Linked DNA regions of Homo sapiens: all the other regions are linked to region 1. Evidence: promoter capture Hi-C in human tissues and cell types (Jung and others, 2019). All regions are on one chromosome and are shown on one strand. The core of a region is centred on a gene start or on the middle of the fragment in contact, and the rest is flanking DNA. Distances in the headings are between cores, read along the strand shown.

Region 1 (3,373 bases), core at 1-2,500:
TTTTGAGACAGAGTCTCACTCTGTCGCCAGGCTGGAGTGCAGTGGCGTGATCTCGGCTCACTGCAACCTCTGCCTCCCAGGTTCAACTGATTCTCCTGCCTCAGCCTCCCGAGTAGCTGGGATTACAGGCATGCACCCCCATGCCCAGCTCATTTTTGTATTTTTAATAGAGACAGGGTTTTGTCAGGCTGGCCAGGTTGGTCTTGAACTCCTGACCTCAAGTGATGCACCGGCCTTGGCCTCCCAAAGTGCTGGGATTACAGGTGTGAGCACCACACCTGGCCCTTCAGTGATTTCTTGCTTTCATGTTTAGTAGGTTTCTTTTGTCTTACAGAAGTGTAATCGTGTGCTCAGATCCCAGATCTCTATAATTTTAGTTATCTAATAAATAGTAGTTTTCTTCTCTGATTCCATGAATTTTCCAGCCAAGCTCTTATTTACTTATTTATTTATTTATTTATTTATTTATTTAGAGACAGAGTCTCACTCTGTCGTCCAGGCTGGAGTGCAGTGTAGCGATCATAGCTCACCACAGCCTCAACCTCCTGGGCTTGAGTGATCCTCCTACCTTAGTTTCCAGAGTAGCTGGGACCACAGGCACATGCCACCATGCCCCGCTAGTTTTTATTTTTATTGTTATGTTGTAGAGATGGAGTCTTGTTATGTTGCCCAGGCTGGTCTCAAACTCCTGGGCTCAAACAGTCCTCTCACCTTGGCCTCCGAAAAGTGTTGGGATTACGGATGTGAGCCACCATGCCTGGTCTACATTTTTTTTTTTTTTGTAGACAGAGTCTACAAAAAAGGCCGGGTTCAAGCAATTCTCAGCCTCAGCCTCCCGAGTAGCTGGGATTACAGGTGCCCACCACCACGCCTGGCTAATTTTTTTGTATTTTTATTAGAGATGGGGTTTCACCATCTTGGCCAGGCTGGTCTCAAACTCCTGACCTCGTGATCCACCCACCTCAGCCTCCCAAAGTGCTAGGATTACAGGCGTGAGCCACTGCGTCTGGCCGCCTGGCCTACATTTTGATTTTGTGTTGCCTCGCTGGAGGGGCAAAGCTGTGAGGAAATCCCACCCCCGCCCCACGTCCCCTCTACCTTGGCATTCCTGGAGCGCTGCTGCAATGTCATCAGCACTGAGCACGTCCGTGATGCTCATTTTCTACCTACTCACACAGAATAAACGAGAGGCGATAAGCCACAAACAGGAACGTGCACATCCAGGGGAAACACATCTTCCCAGGCCCACTGAAACTGTATGTGTGTCTAGATTTTTTTTTTTTTTTTTTTTGAGATGGAGTCTCACTCTGTCACCCAGGCTGGAGTGCAGTGGCACAATCTTGGCTCACTGCAACCTCCACCTCCTGGGCTCAAGTGATTCTCCTGCCTCAGCCTTCCGAGTAGCTGGGATTACAGGTGCGCACTACCAGGCCTGGCTGATTTTTGTGTTTTTAGTAGAGATGGGGTTTTGCCATGTTTGCCAGCCTGGTCTCGAGCTCCTGACCTCATGTGATCTGCCTGCCTTGGCCTCACAAACTGCTGGGATTACAGGCATAAGCCACCAAGCCAGGCCTGTCTAGAATTTTTAAAATGTGATAAGCATGGTTTTGTATTAAGTGACGGGACAGAATATCCAAATTAAAACCAGATACCAAAAAGACCCCAGCCCTTTTTGTCTCAGAGCCTTCTTTTGAATATATGCCAAAAATGAAAAAAAAAAACATGACCCAAAGAAGGATTCAATTGTTTTCTTATAAAAATTATACTGACATAATCAGTCATTTGCATAGGCAGCCGTAAACCATGTTACAAATGCACTGGCATTTTCCTACAGCAGTCCGAGAGATGCACTGTTGCAAATTCCACGTGGGAAAGGATACAGTTTGGGCTGCTTGCAGACATTCTGTGGAAGAAGACATGCTACCTGTCCTGAAAGGTGGGAAGCAGATGGATGAAAAGCCCATCTCCCAGAGATTAAAATCCTTCCAGATGTCAGAGCCATGGGAAAACAGGAGTCTAAGCACCTGAGCCTAATATGAATGCATGCAGTGAAGAAGAGTCTGGGGTCTGATGGGTCCACCAGTTACTCACCGTTTTAGGTTTTCCCCCAGGAAGAATCAGGAAAAAGAGTTGAAGGAGCAAAACAACAGATGTGCTTTTGCTACCTTACTGACCTACCTTATATAGGCTAGAAAAAGTGATAGTTACAACCTCTTAGATTTCCTTTTCAAGGATCAAGTGGATGCAGCTCAAATGTCTTGTCCTACTCAGGAAACCTCTTTTTTTTTTCTATTTATGTCTCAAGGGAATGTGGGTGGGAATAGCCAATTGTAAAAACAACAACAACAACAACAACCTCAACAAACCTTAACTAAGGTTTCAATTCTGCAAACGAACCCTGTTGGCAAAGTGTGGAGAAGGTTCTAGAGCCTGGTAAGCTGGAGATGGTGGCCTGAACTAAGACAAACACATACAGGGTGCTCTGTAAGCTGAAAAGCTCCCCAGATGTTAGCAGGTACCGTTGGAGGCAGGCCTGTTTTCAGCTTTGGGAACTATGGATGTGTAAGGCTGACCTCAATCTGGAGTTGAAGACTCAAAGCCATTGTCACCAAGTGCACACACAGGACTCGTCCGGCACAGGAGACAGGGCTAAGTGACGTGATTTTCCTACAAAACTCTTGACTTTTACGTTTCCCAGCTATACCATAAATTGCACACACTCAAAAGGCAAAAAGGAGGAAATCAAACCAGCATCCCCAACCCCCAAAACTAACAAGTTCAGAAACAAATACTCTGAGGCTGAGGCCAGGACTAGACACCTCAAGATTTTGTTTCTGTTGTGACAGGGTCTTGCTCTGTTGCCCCGACTGGAGTGCAGTGGTACAATCTCAGCTCATTGCAGCCTTGACCTCCAGGCTCAAGCGATCCTCCCACCTCAGTCTCCCGAGTAGCTGGTACTACAGGCACACACCACCATGCCTGGCTAATTTTTTTAATATACATATTTTTTGGAGAGACAGGGTTTTGCCATGTTGCCTAGGCTGGTCTTGAACTCCTGGGCTCGAGTAATTCTCCCACCTCAGCCTCCCAAAGTGCTGGGATTACATGTGTGAACCACCACTCCTGGCCTTTTTTTTTTTTTTAATTTTCAGCAAACATTTATTGAGGCTTTATATGGCCAGCACTGTGCTAGACTCTTCTTTTTAATTATTGGGTAAAAACCACATTCCATAAAATATATAATCTCAACCATTTTTAAGTGTATGTATAGTACAATATTGTTAACTCTTGGTGCATTATTGAATGAGAGATCTCTGTAATTTATTCAGCTGGAAAAACAGAAACTCTGTATCCATTGAGCTGCCACAACTCC
Region 2 (3,529 bases), core at 247-2,746, 130 kb before region 1:
AAAGGGATGGCTACAAATCATTTCAATTAAACACACATGAAATATAATTAGGTTTTTTTAATTGACTTCACCTGATAAAAGGCAGCCAATCCTTCTGTCTGTCATCAAACGTTTCTTTACAGCATTATTAAAAAGGATCCTGAGGTTGTTCTTCACAGTTTCTATCTCAAAACCTATAAACACAGCAGTAAATCAAACAGCTCCAGAAAATCTTGGGCTGGATTAGTTATTGAAATGAAATACACAATCATCAACATCTATCATGATGGTATTTACTCAATGGTGGAGTGTGCCAAATCTTAATGTGTTCCCTCCAAACAAAATAGGAAGTAGGTCTTGAAACTAAAATCATTCAAATGATGGGAGAATACAACTTAAAATTTTTTTCCCTTGGAGAAGGATGGGGAATAGGTGGGTGGGTGTCTGCTACCTGGAAAGAGTTTCTCCACATTGTCATAGAGGGCGTGCAGGGGTACATCCCGACAGTGATGATATTTAACCATTTCCACGGATGCAACTTTGCCATTTGGCTTTAAATCCAAAACTTCATAGTGTCCAGGAAGAAAAGGCTCCACTTTTAAAAAGGGAGTCGCGGAGTGCTTCAATGTAACAAGACCTAGAAATTCACAATGATACCTTTATTCAAATTAGGTAACCCTTCCCAATAACTTTCACGATTAGTTAACATCATCTACATTCCTATTTTCCCTTTTTAATACAAACACATACCCATTAAATAAGCAAAATAGGAAAAAAAATTTTCTATTTTCCTAAGCCCTACCATCTACTTACCTGAGAGACAATAATGGCACAGGGATATACTGCCAAATTACACTAACTTTTCGTAATTCAAAGAAATAGAAAAATCTCCAGTGTTCAATTTCTTCTTCTTAGATTTCTAATCAAGAAAACCTATTTTCTATACTAAAGCAAATACACAAAAGGAAAAGACACACTTATGAAGCAAAGGGATGAACTGGAGTCCTAATGTTATGATAGGCTGGGAGTCATTTATTTGTCATCACTGAGGTATTTTCAGAACACAGCCATGGTTCCCAGACCTTTAACAAGTACAATGATCCACTTTTACCTACTTTAAAGTCAGATAAGAAGACATCTATCCCTTAACTAGTTGTTATACACTATATGTGAATAAAACCATATAACTTAAATTTCCTCAATAAATTCTCACAGACAGTACAGTACCCAACCTCTCATCACCATGATCTTTGATACAAACATCAATGTTTTATTGTAGATCGTAATGGACTATCTACATGGAATACTCGTGATTTACAATTTGAGATTGTCTACCCAGCCAGTAACCTGTGTAGCACTGAATTCAAATACCAGAAAAAGGACCCAGATTCCCTCACCAGCCAGCAGAGCTCAAGTGAGCTACACAACCCGGATAGGGAATGGGGAGTAATTAAAAGGTTTTAAGCAGGCAATACTATAATCAGATGAGATTTTGACAGGTTATTCTAAAAGCACTGAGAAAAGAAAATTGTTGCAGTATTCCAGATGAGATAATTTGGTCTGGAAAAGGACAGTGTCAAGGATATAGAAAAGAACAATTAAGGAATTTCAGAGGGTAAGTTCCATATCAAGTGATCATCAGGCTCAAAGAAGGCCCAGGGGAGCAGGAGGCTGCTTTTCCCCAGTGTTCTCTTTACCAGGCTTTCCCAGCAGTCCTGGCAACTGACATATATATATGCTTGTTCTTTGCCATCTGATCACACTAGAAATGCCTGAAAATAAGCCAGTTCCAGTATTAGTACAAACACTGTGACTAGTGTCCTAAGGACCCCTTTGATTGATCTCATTATCCCTGCTTCAGCCAATATTAAATCTGAAAATTAAGTGAGAAAGAATTTAAAGAATGGCAAAAAGAGGCAGGGAGAGAGATATTAGGATGTTACTGCTGCACAGGTAAGGGATAAAAGATAAATGTCTTCCTCAAGTTTACCATCAAAAAGTGCTATGCATGATTTGCAAGTATTTTCTTCCAACTTGTGGGCCGTCTTTTCACTTTCTTGATGGTGTCCTTTGATGTGCAAAAATGTTTAATTTTGATGAAGTCCAATTCATTGATTTTTATTATTGTTGCTGGTCTCATATTTAAGAAAGCTTTGCCAAATCCAGGGTCATGACAATTTACTTCTATGTTTGCTTCTCGGGATTTTATAGTTTTAGCCCTTACATTTAAGTGGATTAGTTCAAAACTGATTCATTTGATCCTTTTTTTTTTTTTTTTTGAGATGAGTCTCGCTCTGTCACTCAGGCTGGAGTGCAGTTGCGCGATCTCGGCTTACCGCAAGCTCCGTCTCCCGGGTTCACGCCATTCTCCTGCCTCAGCCTCCTGAGTAGCTGGGACTACAGGCGCCCGCCACCACGCCCGGCTAATTTTTAGTAGAGACGGGGTTTCACTGTGTTAGCCAGGATGGTCTCGATCTCCTGACCTCGTGATCCACCCGCCTCGGCCTCCCAAAGTGCTGGGATTACAGGCATAAGCCATCGCGCCTGGCCTGATCCATTTTTCTGTATCCATAATTTTTGTATACGATGTTGGGTAAAGATTCAACTCCAAGTTTTGCATATGGTTACATATCTGGTTGCCCCTGTGCCAGTTTTCAAACTTCTTTCTCCACTGAATAATCTTGGCACCCTTGTCAAAAATAAGTTGATCATATATGTATGGGTTCATTTCTGACTCTCAATTCTATCCCACTAGTCTATACATCTATCCTTCTGTCAGTATTATATTGTCCTTATTACCATTGTCTTGTAGTAAGTTTTAAAATCAGTTAATATGAGGTCTCCTACTTTGTTCTTCATTTTCAAAAGATTGTTTTGGCTATTCTTAGTCTCTTGCAATTCCATATGAATTTGAGAGTCAGCTTGTAGATTTCACAAAGAACTCATCTGGGATTCTGATAGGGATCAAGTTAAATCTGTAAATCAGTTTAGGGAGGACTGCCATCTTAACAATGTTAAGCCTTCAAATCATGATCATGGGATACTTTTCCATTTATTTAGATCTCCTCTCATTTCTTTCAACAACATTTTATAGTTTTCAGAGTACAAGTTTTACACTTCTTAAATTTATTTCTAAGTATTTTATTCTTTTTGATGCTATTATAAATGAAGTTGCTTTCTTAATTTCATTTTGATTGCTCATTTTAAGTATGTAGTATTCAGTTAAAGTGTGTCAAATACCATTGATTTTTGTATATTCATCTTGTATCCTGCAACCCTGATGAACAGAAGGGATTTGTATCTAGAATACATAAGGAACTATTACAATTCAGTAATAAAAAGACAAAATAACTCAATTAGAAATGGGTAATTCAAGAATGGATAAACAAATTGCATTGCATGCAAACAAATGGAATATTATTCAGCAAGCACACCAACATGGCACATGTATACATATGTAACAAACCTGCACGTTATGCACATGTACCCTAGAACTTAAAGTATAATAATAATAATAATAAATGAGCTATCAAGCCATGAAAAAACACAG
Region 3 (3,381 bases), core at 319-2,818, 190 kb after region 1:
ATCCAACACAAGCTTAATAGCAAAAGATGACATAAAGAAATTATTGACGATTCTCCTGAATGAACATAGACACAAATACTAGCAAACTGCATGTAGCAGTGTGTGAATAAAACAATTAAGACTTATTCTAGGACTATAAGGGTAGATGTGTATTATAAAAATATGTCTACATAATTCATTCCATTGACAGAATAAAAGAGGAGAAATACATTATAGCAATAGATTGCAGAAACATCATTTAGTATAATTCAGCAGCTATTCTGTGTTTACATAGACTATGTAAACATATTCTCCTCTGATGGGAAACATTTCTTCCGACAGGAAAGGAAAGATACAACTTAAATATCATATGGACTAAGACTCAAAACTTTACCAAAACTTAATAGCAATATCATGCTATTGCTAAATGGCAAAATAATAAAGTCCTTTCAATTAAATGAGAAACCAGGCAGAGATGCCCACTATTTCTGTTACCTTCCAACATTTCTTTGGAGGTACTAGCTAATACAAACACAAACTATAAAATTATCAGTTTAAAAATAATAGGCCCAAGAAATAAGGGGGAAAAAAGAAAAAAATAATAATAGGCCAGGCACAGTGGCTCACACCTGTAATCTCAGCACTTTGGGAGGCCGAGGTGGGCAGATCACTTGAGGTCAGGAGTTTGAGACCAGCCTGGCCAACATGGTGAAATCCCATCTCTACTAAAAATACAAAAAAATTAGCCAGGCGTGGTGGCACATGCCTGTAATCCCAGCTACTTGGGAGGCTGAGGCAGGAGAATCGCTTGAACCCGGGAGGCAGAGGTTGCAGTGAGCTGAGATCGCACCACTGCACTCCAGCCTGCATGACAGAGCGAGACTCCATCTCAATAATAATAATGATTTACTGAATGCTTCCCACATGCCAGCTACTTTACACCAACTCTTAAGTGGTAGTGCTGGTTTTCCCGTCTGTGTTACAGGTCAGGAGACGCAGGCACAGACAGGTATACTGACTTGTTCAGGGTCGTGCAACTGGAAGCCAGCAGAGCTGGGATTCAAAGCTACACCGTCTGCCTCCAGATTTCACACTGTTAACCACCGAGCTACACCACACAATCATTGGAAAAGAAGAGAACATTGCCCTTCTTTACTGGTGCCATGGTGTTGGATGTTTAGAAAAACCAAGAAACTGTGCTTTTAAAAAATTAGAATTCATAAAAGAATTTGTTGTGGCTTTTTATAAGACAGTATACATAAGTCAGTAGTTTTTCTCTGTACAGGTGTAATTATGTACCCAGTAGTGAAGGTGGATAAAAACCATTTTATTCTGAATAATGCCAAAATTATAAATTATCTGGGTATATATTATGTGAGAAAGACACAGGACTGTATGAAGAAAACTATGAAATCTTATTGAAGAATGTAAAATAACATGTGGACACATGGAAAGATGCACCATGATTTATGGTGGGGAGGCCACACAAAAATGCCAGTTCACTCAAAGAATTCCCATTCGAATCTGAACAGGGTTTTTATTTATTTTTTATTTTTTTGAGACAGGGTCTCGCTCTGTCACCCAGGCTTGAGTGAGTGCAGTGGCACGATCATGGCTCACTTGCTTGGCCTTGACTTCCCAGGCTCAAGCAATCCTCTTGTCTCAGCCTCGCAGGTAGCTGGGACTATACATATGCACCATCAGTGGTGGACCCTATTCCAGCCAGAGGCGTTTTCCCTAGGGTGTAATAAGAATTTCACACCCTGTGGAAGAACTCTGTGTACCCAAATCCTAGCAGGTGCCTGAGATACACACAGCAGGCACTCAGTAAATGTACCATTGCCCAGCTAGCAAAGACTGACCTAATAAGCAGGGCAAACACTGTCAAAACTCTAGTATAAAGTTGCCTCTGTGTGCTTTATCGGAATCCTCTTGTTTTAATCCTCTCCTGGTACGTCTCCATCCCATCTTAGAGTGTTAAGTGCAGAGTCCCTTCGGAAGCTTAAGTCTTTGTGGCTGCCAGAGTCAGAATGACGTGACGAGCAGAGGGAGGCTTTGGAATTGAAGTTTTCATTCACCTCTCATCAGCTTTACCAGTATAAGCCTGGTTATTTCATCCTTCGGAGCTCTATCTCTTCTATAAAATGGGGATCGTCTTTAAAGCCCTGGAGTGCTGTTGTCAAGATGGAGATAAAGTATGCCAAGCTGCTAGAAGAATATTCAGTAACTTTCCGGTATTTTGCTTCCTGTCTGTGAACTCTTCTTATCAGGAATCCAGATTACTCGGGAAAGCATAAGTAGTTCACATAATAGAGGTGTGGATTATTTTGAAAATGCCTCCTGCGTGTTGAGTTTGCATTGGAGAACCCCGAAGACGCGCAAACTAGTCCTAGCGTGAGTGAGCAGCAAGCAGTGGTACTTCCTTGTGAATCGGGGTGGGAACCCTTCAGAACCGCGAGCTCCCACTTTCTGTCGATCGCTCTGCTCATGCGGCCCTGAGTCTCATGGTTACTGTGGTCTCAGTCACAGCAAGTGCTGCCAAGCTCAGGCGACGCTGCCAGAGCCTTCTGAGAGCCGGGCGGGGCTGGTGCCACTGGTAGCCTCATCCCTGGACCTGTTTTTCAACTTGAAGGGAGAGCAGACTGGCTGTGTGTTTGCATTTCCTGACAAAAGCAGCCATTGACGTCAAGAGTTCCCTCTGTTGTTAAGAAGTGACACCTGTGTGTTTTTCTTTAGCTTTGCACGTTATTGGGCTTCAGATAATATTTATTTTTACCAACTTTGGCCCAAATTGTATCATTACTTTGAATCTGTACAGCACTTTTATGTTTTCAAAACATTTCATGTATTTTTCAGTGTTACCCTTGCAACAGCCTTGTGAGTTAACCATTTCAAGTGCAACCTGTTGTTTCGTGAGGAAACTGAGGCTCCTCTGCTATGCATGTGACCAGCCCAGCATCACATGGTCTTGCAGCAGTGGAACTGAGATGAGCTCCTGGCCTCCTGACTGCCCAGGGCTCCCTCCCACTGCATTGTGGAGCCTGGGCACTTGGGGAGGAGTGGGGCAGGACCCAGTCCTGCCACTGTTTGCTTCCTCACCACCTCTGGGTTTCAGGTCATGAGAAGCATTGCCTTTTCCCCTGGGAACACCAGTTGCTTGCTTTCGAGTTTTATAATGAGAGCCAAGGACCTTCTGCAGGCGTAATTGTTCATCTTTTACCAAGCCTTTGCATTTCAAGTATCCAAAGACCTACGTGGAATGTTAGTATGGAGAGAGAAGAGGAGGGAGGGACTGGGACAGTCATCCTGCCATCCAGGAAATGCCTGAGCTCGACATCGCCCAAGCTAGCCTCAGGCTGCTGCCCCTGGCCTAGCAGGATGCGTGCTTGCCCTTGTTGGGAT

What was found. The method cuts DNA at HindIII sites, captures the fragments that hold promoters and counts their contacts. A contact is called where the count stands out against the background at its distance.
Region 2: a contact is called between a fragment that was not itself captured here and the fragment with the promoter of OCM2 in region 1, in 1 of the 25 tissues and cell types used here (thymus).
Region 3: a contact is called between a fragment that was not itself captured here and the fragment with the promoter of OCM2 in region 1, in 1 of the 25 tissues and cell types used here (adrenal gland).

What each region holds. Positions count from the first base shown.
Region 1 is chr7:97,988,946-97,992,318 of GRCh38, forward strand. OCM2 (oncomodulin 2) reads right to left here and starts at 1,251. Exons shown (of 4, transcript NM_006188.4): 1 at 1,099-1,251. The coding sequence starts at 1,159. The HindIII fragment of the contact is 22,202 bases long and covers 1-3,373 here.
Region 2 is chr7:97,858,783-97,862,311 of GRCh38, forward strand. It overlaps ASNS (asparagine synthetase (glutamine-hydrolyzing)), which reads right to left. Exons shown (of 13, transcript NM_001673.5): 5 at 431-616; 6 at 72-173. It overlaps CZ1P-ASNS (CZ1P-ASNS readthrough), which reads right to left. Exons shown (of 19, transcript NR_147989.1): 11 at 431-616; 12 at 72-173. Among named protein-coding and RNA genes, the nearest start is that of ASNS, 12 kb to the right of the region's middle. The HindIII fragment of the contact is 7,001 bases long and covers 1-3,529 here.
Region 3 is chr7:98,175,977-98,179,357 of GRCh38, forward strand. The region is part of intron 7 of LMTK2 (lemur tyrosine kinase 2); the gene reads left to right. Among named protein-coding and RNA genes, the nearest start is that of BHLHA15, 34 kb to the right of the region's middle. The HindIII fragment of the contact is 5,724 bases long and covers 1-3,381 here.